2 separate regions of the Homo sapiens genome follow, and region 1 is linked to region 2. Evidence: promoter capture Hi-C in human tissues and cell types (Jung and others, 2019). All regions are on one chromosome and are shown on one strand. The core of a region is centred on a gene start or on the middle of the fragment in contact, and the rest is flanking DNA. Distances in the headings are between cores, read along the strand shown.

What was found. Contacts are between HindIII fragments. The study calls those that stand out against the background at their distance.
Region 1: a contact is called between the fragment with the promoter of ZNF771 here and the fragment with the promoter of MAZ in region 2, in 1 of the 25 tissues and cell types used here (small bowel).

Annotation. Positions count from the first base shown.
Region 1 is chr16:30,405,813-30,409,484 of GRCh38, reverse strand. ZNF771 (zinc finger protein 771) reads right to left here and starts at 1,879. Exons shown (of 3, transcript NM_001142305.2): 1 at 1,821-1,879; 2 at 1,291-1,440. The coding sequence starts at 1,431. RefSeq lists silencers at 1,744-1,953, 1,976-2,155. The HindIII fragment of the contact is 10,608 bases long and covers 1-3,345 here.
Region 2 is chr16:29,804,211-29,808,044 of GRCh38, reverse strand. It overlaps MAZ (MYC associated zinc finger protein), which reads right to left and starts at 1,516. Exons shown (of 5, transcript NM_002383.4): 1 at 1,152-1,516; 2 at 217-1,067. The coding sequence starts at 1,343. It overlaps KIF22 (kinesin family member 22), which reads right to left. Exons shown (of 14, transcript NM_007317.3): 12 at 3,019-3,231; 13 at 2,871-2,930; 14 at 2,661-2,782. The coding sequence ends at 2,735. RefSeq lists silencers at 46-715, 1,616-1,755, 1,886-2,225, 2,966-3,015 and an enhancer at 2,536-2,585. The HindIII fragment of the contact is 10,316 bases long and covers 1-3,834 here.

The DNA of each region.
Region 1 (3,672 bases), core at 630-3,129, 600 kb before region 2:
GTATCTGGTGGCAGTTAGGGTCTCCAGGGGGTGAAATTTAACTCATATTCTGATCTCAAAACCTTCAAATACCCTCAGAATAAAAGCCAGACTCCCTGTGTGGCCTGCCAACCACCCCCACTCATCCACACTACAGCATGACCGAACCACCCACCCTCACTGCTGCAGTGCACTACTCACTCGTCTGAGCCTCTATAAGGGCCATTTCTGGCTGGATACGGTGGCTCACACCTATAATCCCAGCACTTTGGGAGGCTGAGGTGGGAGGATCACCTGAACTCAGGAGTTTGAGACCAGTCTGGCCAACATGGCAAAACCCCAACTCTACTGAAAATACAAAAAATTAGCCGGGCGTGGTGGTGCATGCCTGTAATCCCAGCTTCTTGGGAGGCTGAGGTAGGAGAACCACTTGAACCCGGGAGGTGGAGGCTGCAGTGAGCCGAGATCACGCCACTGCACTCCAGCCTGGGCAACAGAGCGAAACTCTGTCTCAAAACAAAACAAAAAAAAATTAGCCAGGTGTAGTGGTGCATGCCTGTAGTCCCAGCTACTTGGGAGGCTGAGGTGGGAGGATCACCTGAGCCCAGGGAAGTCAAGGCTGCAGTGAGCTGTACTGCACTACAGCTTGGGTGACTGAATGAGACCCTGTCTCAAACAATAACAACAGTAATAATAAAAGAGCCATTTCCTCTGACTGGGTCCATCACCCCACTTCTGACCCCAGACTCCTACTAGTCTCACATAAGCCATCCTTTTACTTTGAGACCTGTGGCCAGTTACCAAACTGCCCTGGGCCTCAGTCTCCTCATCTGTAAAATGGAATAAATGCTACCGACATCATAGAATCGAGGTGCTTAGAACAGTGCCTGGCACATAGAAAATGCTAGGCAAGGGTTAGCTATTGTTACTGTTGCTGTTGAACTAACCTGACCTTTCCCCAACCTCTAAATCTGAGTTAAGTTCCCACTTCTAGGCTTCATCATCCCCCTGTACCTGCAGCCATCACACGGGATTCTAACTGTGTGGTTACCCTTCAGTCTAACATCAAGCTCCATGGGGGATCCAAGGACGGAGTTTAATCTCCTGCACCCAGCAGGAAGCCTGGGACAGTAGGCGTGACTTTTGTATGATGGAAGCCCAGGCAGTAGGGCAGAAGGATGGGCCAATCCTGAGGTTTTAGATCCGAGATTCTGGGAAAAGTAGGGGCAAGATCCCTGGCTTCTATCTGAGGGAGGCTGGGCCTGGACCAGGTTTGGGGACAGTGTGCCCCAGGGTGTGTGTGACACATACCTCCTTGTTGTCCATGGGGATCTTGAGTTTCACCACCTCATACTTCTCCTCACCCTCATCCTCCTCACCCTTCACCAGCAGCACCATCTCCTCCTGCATCTCTTCCTCCTCCTCTTCCTCTGCCTGCTGTTCGCCAGGCATCTTGGTGTCCTGAGGCGGGGAGCTGGATCAGAAGCTCAGGACCCGCCCCCCCCCACCCCCCCCCCCGCCCACCGTGGCCCTGGCCCAGCAAGGCAGTGCAGCCGTGGCTTCTCCCGCCCTGCCCTGGTCTCCGAATCTGGTCCTCTCCCGTCCACCCCAGCCCGGCCCCACGCTCTGGCACAGCCCCGGGACCAGCTCCGAGGGCTCGCGTTCACCCCACTCATCCCAGCATTCAAGGCCTTGAACAGTTCGAATCTCCAGCCCCCGCAAGTCGCCACCATCCTTGCGCTGAGTCACTCCCCAGGGCCCGGGTCGGCGACCTGGAGCTCTGGGGCACGGGCTGGAGGCGGGATCGGGGCGGAAACCCCGGGGAGGGGGTGCGCACTCACCAGCCGAAGGTTCGGCACTCGCGGTGCCCCAGGCCTGGGCGCCGGGCGGCTGGGCACTCAGCGAGGCCGCGGCTCCGGGGGCGGGGAGGGGGCGGGACCGCAGGGACGGCCGGTCATTGGTCCGAACATATAGCCCCACCCCCTGGGGCGGAGCCCGAAGGACCCAGGCGTCCGGCCCAAACGGCTCGGAGAGGGCGGCGAGCTCAGACTTGGCGTCCTCCGCAGTCCCCCGACTCCCAAGCACCTGGAGCCGCCCCAGCCCGGCGTTCAAGGTCCTTGCCGCCGAGTTCCAACCTAACCTCGCGGCCCGTCTCCTGGGGCCGGCTTGGAGGTCTCCGCTGCGCCCAGTGCCTCTGCTCCGCCCGAAATAGGCCACGTGCGCTCCCGCCCCGGCCTGGGCCTCTCCCTGGCGCCCCGCCTGGAGGGCGGACCCTGTTGCCTCCTCACTTCTTCCATTCCCTCTTTATCTCCTCTGCCGTCTTTTCTCCATCTTTCTCGGCTTCGCCTATTCCGCTGGCCTCTGGGATATCCTTGAATACATCCTAACCAATTCAACATCCACCCAAGCTACCGCTGTCGCGTCATGCGTGGGGTGCTTACCATGCGCCAGCGCTGTTCAGCGTCTTACATACCTGGTCTCATTTGATCCGCATAACGATGGGTCCTGATCCATTTTACAGATGAGCTCACTGAAGTTCAGGGAGGTAAACTGATTTGCCTAAGTTACACGATAAGGATGTCATAGCATCCCTGACAATCAGTAGCCTAGGTGAACAACAGCCCAAAGCTAAATCCAGTCCACAGGGGTACCTTGTTTGGCCCTTAGGGTATTTTTACTTTTAAAAAATCTTTTCGGACGGGCACGGCGGCTCACGCCTGTAATCCCAGCACTTTAGGAGGCCGAGGCGGGCGGATCACGAGGTCAGGAGATAGAGACCATCCTGGCTAACACGGTGAAACCCCGACTCTACTAAACAAAATACAAAAAATTAGCTGGGCGTGGTGGCGGGCACCTGTAGTGCCAGCTACTCGGGAGGCTGAGACAGGAGAATGGCGTGAACCCGGGAGGCGAGCTTGCAGTTAGCCGAGATCGCGCCACTGCGCTCCAGCCTGGGCGACAGAGCGAGACTCCGTCTCAAAAAAAAAAAAAAAAAAAAAAAAAAAAAATCGTTTCAAAGCCGGGCGCGGTGGCTCATGCCTGTAATCCCAGCACTTTGGGAGGCGGAGGCCGGTGGATCACTTGAGGTCAGGATTTCGAGACCAGCCTAACCAACATGGTGAAACCCCGTCTCTACTAAAAATACAAAAATTAGCCAAGCTTGGTGGTGCATGCCTGTAATCCCAGCTACTCGAGAGGCTGAGGCACGAGAATTGCTTGAACTGGGGAGGCAGTGGTTGCAGTGAGCCGAGATCATGCCATTGGTCTCCAGCCTAGGCAACAAGAGCGAAACTCCGTCTCAAGAAAAAAAAAATTAAATTGGGATATTTCATATAAAAATAGATTTTTTTTTAGTGGAATAAACAAATGCCACTTCCTTTGAAAAACAGCCACTTCCCTTGAAAAAGCAGATATCTAATTTTCCCATTTTATGAATGGGGCAACTAAGATTCAGAAATCATGAAGGAAAACAGAAATAACATTCAGTAAGTGCTTACAAGTTCTATGTTGTCTCTTTACAACAGCCCTGTTGGGATCAATAATATCTCCATTGGACAAAAGAAGAAACGGAAGCTTAGACAAGTTAAGTAATTTGCTCAAAGTCACACAGCTGGCAAGCAGCAGATTCAAAGCTTGTGCTCTTCTATTGCACCAAATTACCTCTCAGGAATGAAGTTATAAAACTGGCTCTTT
Region 2 (3,834 bases), core at 267-2,766:
ACGCGAAGCTTCCGTCAACCCCAAGGCCCACCTCCTCGACAAAGGACCACCCCTTGCTCCCTGGTAACCGGGAGAGGCTTCCTCCCTCCGCCCTGGGAGTGGCTCCCCTTCCCCAGCCTCAGCAGCCGCCTCCCTCCCCGCCAGCCACGGCCAGGCCACCTCCGTCGCGTCCCTCCCTCCCCACGGCCTAGCGGGCGGCCGAGGCCCCGTGCACACCGGGAGAAGCTCTTGCCACAGTGGGAGCAGTTGTAGGGCTTGTGCACAGCGCCGTCATGTGAGCGCACGTGGTAGCTCATGCGGTCCTTGCGCTTGAAGCGCTGCTGGCACACCGGGCACTGGTAGGGCTTCTCGTCCGAGTGCGACAGCTTGTGTCGGTTCAGGTGGTAGACGTCGCGGAAGGCCTTGCCACACATCTCGCAGGCATGGTTCTTCCGGATGCGCTTCCCCGAGGCGGTCGTGGTCACCACGCCACCGGCGGCCACTGCGGCAGCGCCGCCGCCGGCACCCGCCTCTCCCCCTCCCCCGCCGGCTCCGCTCAGCTGGGGCACGCTCAGGAGGCTCAGGGGCACCATGGTCGGCATCTTCATAGCACCCGAGGGGACCCGGCCGGCCTTGGCTCCCGTGTGGATGGCTTCGTGCCTCCGGAGATTGTAGCCGTTCTTGAACTCCTTGGCGCACAGAGCGCAGATGTAGGGCCCCTTGCTCTTTGTCTTCTTCTCCAAGGCAGACGCGACCGGGGCCACGGCGACCGTCGAGGTTGGGGCTACGACGGCGGTGGCCGCCGCCGCGGCGATAGTGGCGGCGGAGGCGGGGGGCGCGGCCTCGGCCGCGGGCGCCGACACTGGCGGGGGTGGCGGAGGGGGCGCCGGAGGCTGCTTCAGGGCCGCTGTGTCCACCGTAGAGGCGGCGGCAGGGGCCGGGGGCGCGGCAGCGACGGCGGCAGCAGCGGCGGCAGCGGCCGCAGCAGCCGCGGCGGACTCCTGGGCGGCGGCGAGCACCGGGAGCAAGTCCACCTGGAGGGGCTCGGCCGCCGGGGCCTGGGGCGTGGGCGGGGGCGCCGGCGCGGCCTGCGGAGACAAGGCGCCGAGTGGGCCGCGGGTGCGGGCGGGCGTCCCCCCCCAGCCCGGGCCGCCGCGGCCGGCCCTACTCACCTGGAATGGACTCTGGGCGCAGCCCTGGGAGGCAAAGAAGCGGGACTGGAGCTCAGCCCCGACCTGCAGGGGGTTCTGGGCGTGACCCTGAGGTGGCGGGAAGGAGTTCATGAGGCCGCCCACCCCCCGGGAGTCCAGGCCCAGCACGGGGAAGGGGGGGGCCAGCAGCGTGCAAGGAAACACCGGGAACATGGCCTCGGCCGCAGCGGGGCCCCCGGGGCTCAGCGGGGGCCGGGGGCGCGGGCCGCGCGGGGCCCGGGCTCGGGGCGCCGCCCCCGGCCGGCCGGGCTGGGCCGCGCCGAACGCATGGCCCGCGGGCCGCCCCGCCGCCCGCGCACCCCGGCCGGCGGGAGGGAGGAAAAGAGGGCGCCTTGCGGGCCGCGGAGCGCCGCGGCGACGGCGGCGGCGACGCCCCCTGGGTGGGGGCGGGAGGCCCCGCGGGGCCGGGGCCGGGGGCGGGGGCCCGGGCGGCGGCGGCGGCGGCGGCGGCGGTTGGAGCCTGGCGGGGCGGGGTGGGGGGAGCGAGGGAGCAGCCTCGGCCCCCGCCGCGCGCGCGCCCAGCCGGCGCCTCGGGGAGGGCGGGGGAGGGCGCGAGGGAGGGAGGGGGACAGCTGCGCGCGCACCGGGCGCGCGGAGGGGGGGTGGGACGGGAGGGAGGGCGGGCAGGAGGGGGTGTGGGCAGGGGGGTGGGGGCGGGGGGAGGGAGTTGTTACCTGGAAGATGAAGCTGCTCCAGTTGCTGGGATCCATGGCGGAGGGAGGGAGGGAGGTGGCTCGCGCTCACCCTGGGGCGGGAGGAGGAGGCGGCGGCGGTGGGGGAGGGGGAACCCGGGAGGAGGCGCGCGGGGCGGGCAGGAGGGGGGAGGTGGAGGGTGGGGGAAGCGGAGCACACTACGCGCGGGGAGGGCGGGCGGGGGGCGCGAGGACACACAAGAGGCTGGAGCGGGCGCGAGCGCTAGCGCGAGCGCGCGCGTGGCCAGCGGGAGGGGCAGGCGCGAGAGGGACTCTGGCGGGAGGAGGGACGGGGGAGCCACCCAGCAGCCCGAGTCGCCCCGAGCGCGAGACCCCTGAGACGGCTGCTGATTGGCTGACGATGGCGCAGGTGGTGGGCGCGCGGGAGACAGGGCGGCTTCTCTCCTCTTCCCCCCGCCAACGATTCCACTCCCCCTCCCTCCGCCAGCGGCCGTTATTTCGCGCGCACGCGCACAAGGCCGCCGTCGTTGCCGAGCGGGAGAATGGGGGAGCGCGCGCGCCGGGGGCACGGACGGGGCGGGGCTAATCCCTGAGCGCGCGCCCGCCTAACGGTCGCAGGCCTCATGCTTCGGCTTCCGCTTTTTGCGTCCTGCAGGCCACCGTCCTCCCCGCCCCACCCCAGCGGTGTATTTACAATCCTGCGCTGAGTCGTTCCCCGAAGATGGCGCCCAGTGGAGTCGCCTGCCTTGCTCGCGGCCCACCCCGAGGCGGTCACACCCCGGTCCCGCCCCCGCAGCCCCAAAAATCAGGCGGAAGCACCGGAGCAAAAACTGTATTTACACAACACGGGGTTATACAAAAATTTGAAAAGGCGGAGTGAGGAGACGACGGTCAGGAGGCGCCACAGCGCTGGCCGGCGGCGAGACCCAGGATGTTTGCCTGCAACACAGGAGGGAGGGAGACAGCGACGTTAGAGAGGGGCGCGGGGCGCAGGACAGGCAGAGGAGGGGCAGGGCCGTGACTTCACCTTCAGGAAGGACTCCATCTGTTTCCCCGTTATGCCCTCCACGCGTTCCAGGTCCTCCACCTGGCGGGACAGGATCGATAGGGGACAGGGTCTCGGGGGTACCCGGTCTCCCCCGCCCCCGCCCTCCCCCAGTCCAGTGGGCTGCTACCTGGCTGAAGGGGCCGTGGAGCTCCCGCCAGCCCACGATTAGCTGGGCCTTCTTCGGGCCAATGCGCTGAAGACTGCGGAGATCTCGGGCTGAGCCTTCGTTCAGCAGATCCAGTATTTTTTGGCGCCCATGAGCCAGTAGCTCCGGGCTGATCTGTAGCTCCCAGCAGTCCTCAGCCTTCTCCTCAGGCTCTAGGGCATCCAGGGACTCCAGCTGGGAGGCAAAGGGAGATGAGTGACACGCAGGGCAGCCAAGTGCTTTGGGCTCCTCTGCCAAGACTAGGAGCCCAGCACCAGCTACCTCCTGCGCTCCAGCCTCTTCCTCTCTTGTCAAGTGTGTCCAAAATCCCGCCCTCAGGTCACTCTCTGGGTTAATTCTTATTATGCAACTAGTGAAAGAGAGGTACTACTCAGTACCCAGTGGTAATATTAGCACCCTTCTCATGGAGTTGCTGTGGAGATCAAGTGAGTTAATGAATGTAAAGCACAAAATAAGCTCTTAAATCTGGTCCCTCATCTCTAAAAGGGAAAGAATAAGCTGTCTTTCAAAAAGTACATGGGAGAAAGTAATATGAATAAATGATACCTCCCCCAACCATCTCAGTTTTTGGGTAGTTCTAGTGGTGTTCGATTCTGGGTATGTGCATATGTGTGGTTTCTTGCTTGACTGCTTAGGTCATAGTTCCCTAAGTTTTCCCTCTTAAGCTTGTAGAGGGTAGAAGCCAGGCTACACAGTGGAACATCCGCTCTGCGAGGTACATCCACATCACTGCCTTCCACCCTAAATGCCCTGCAAGGAACCATCCATCACCACATT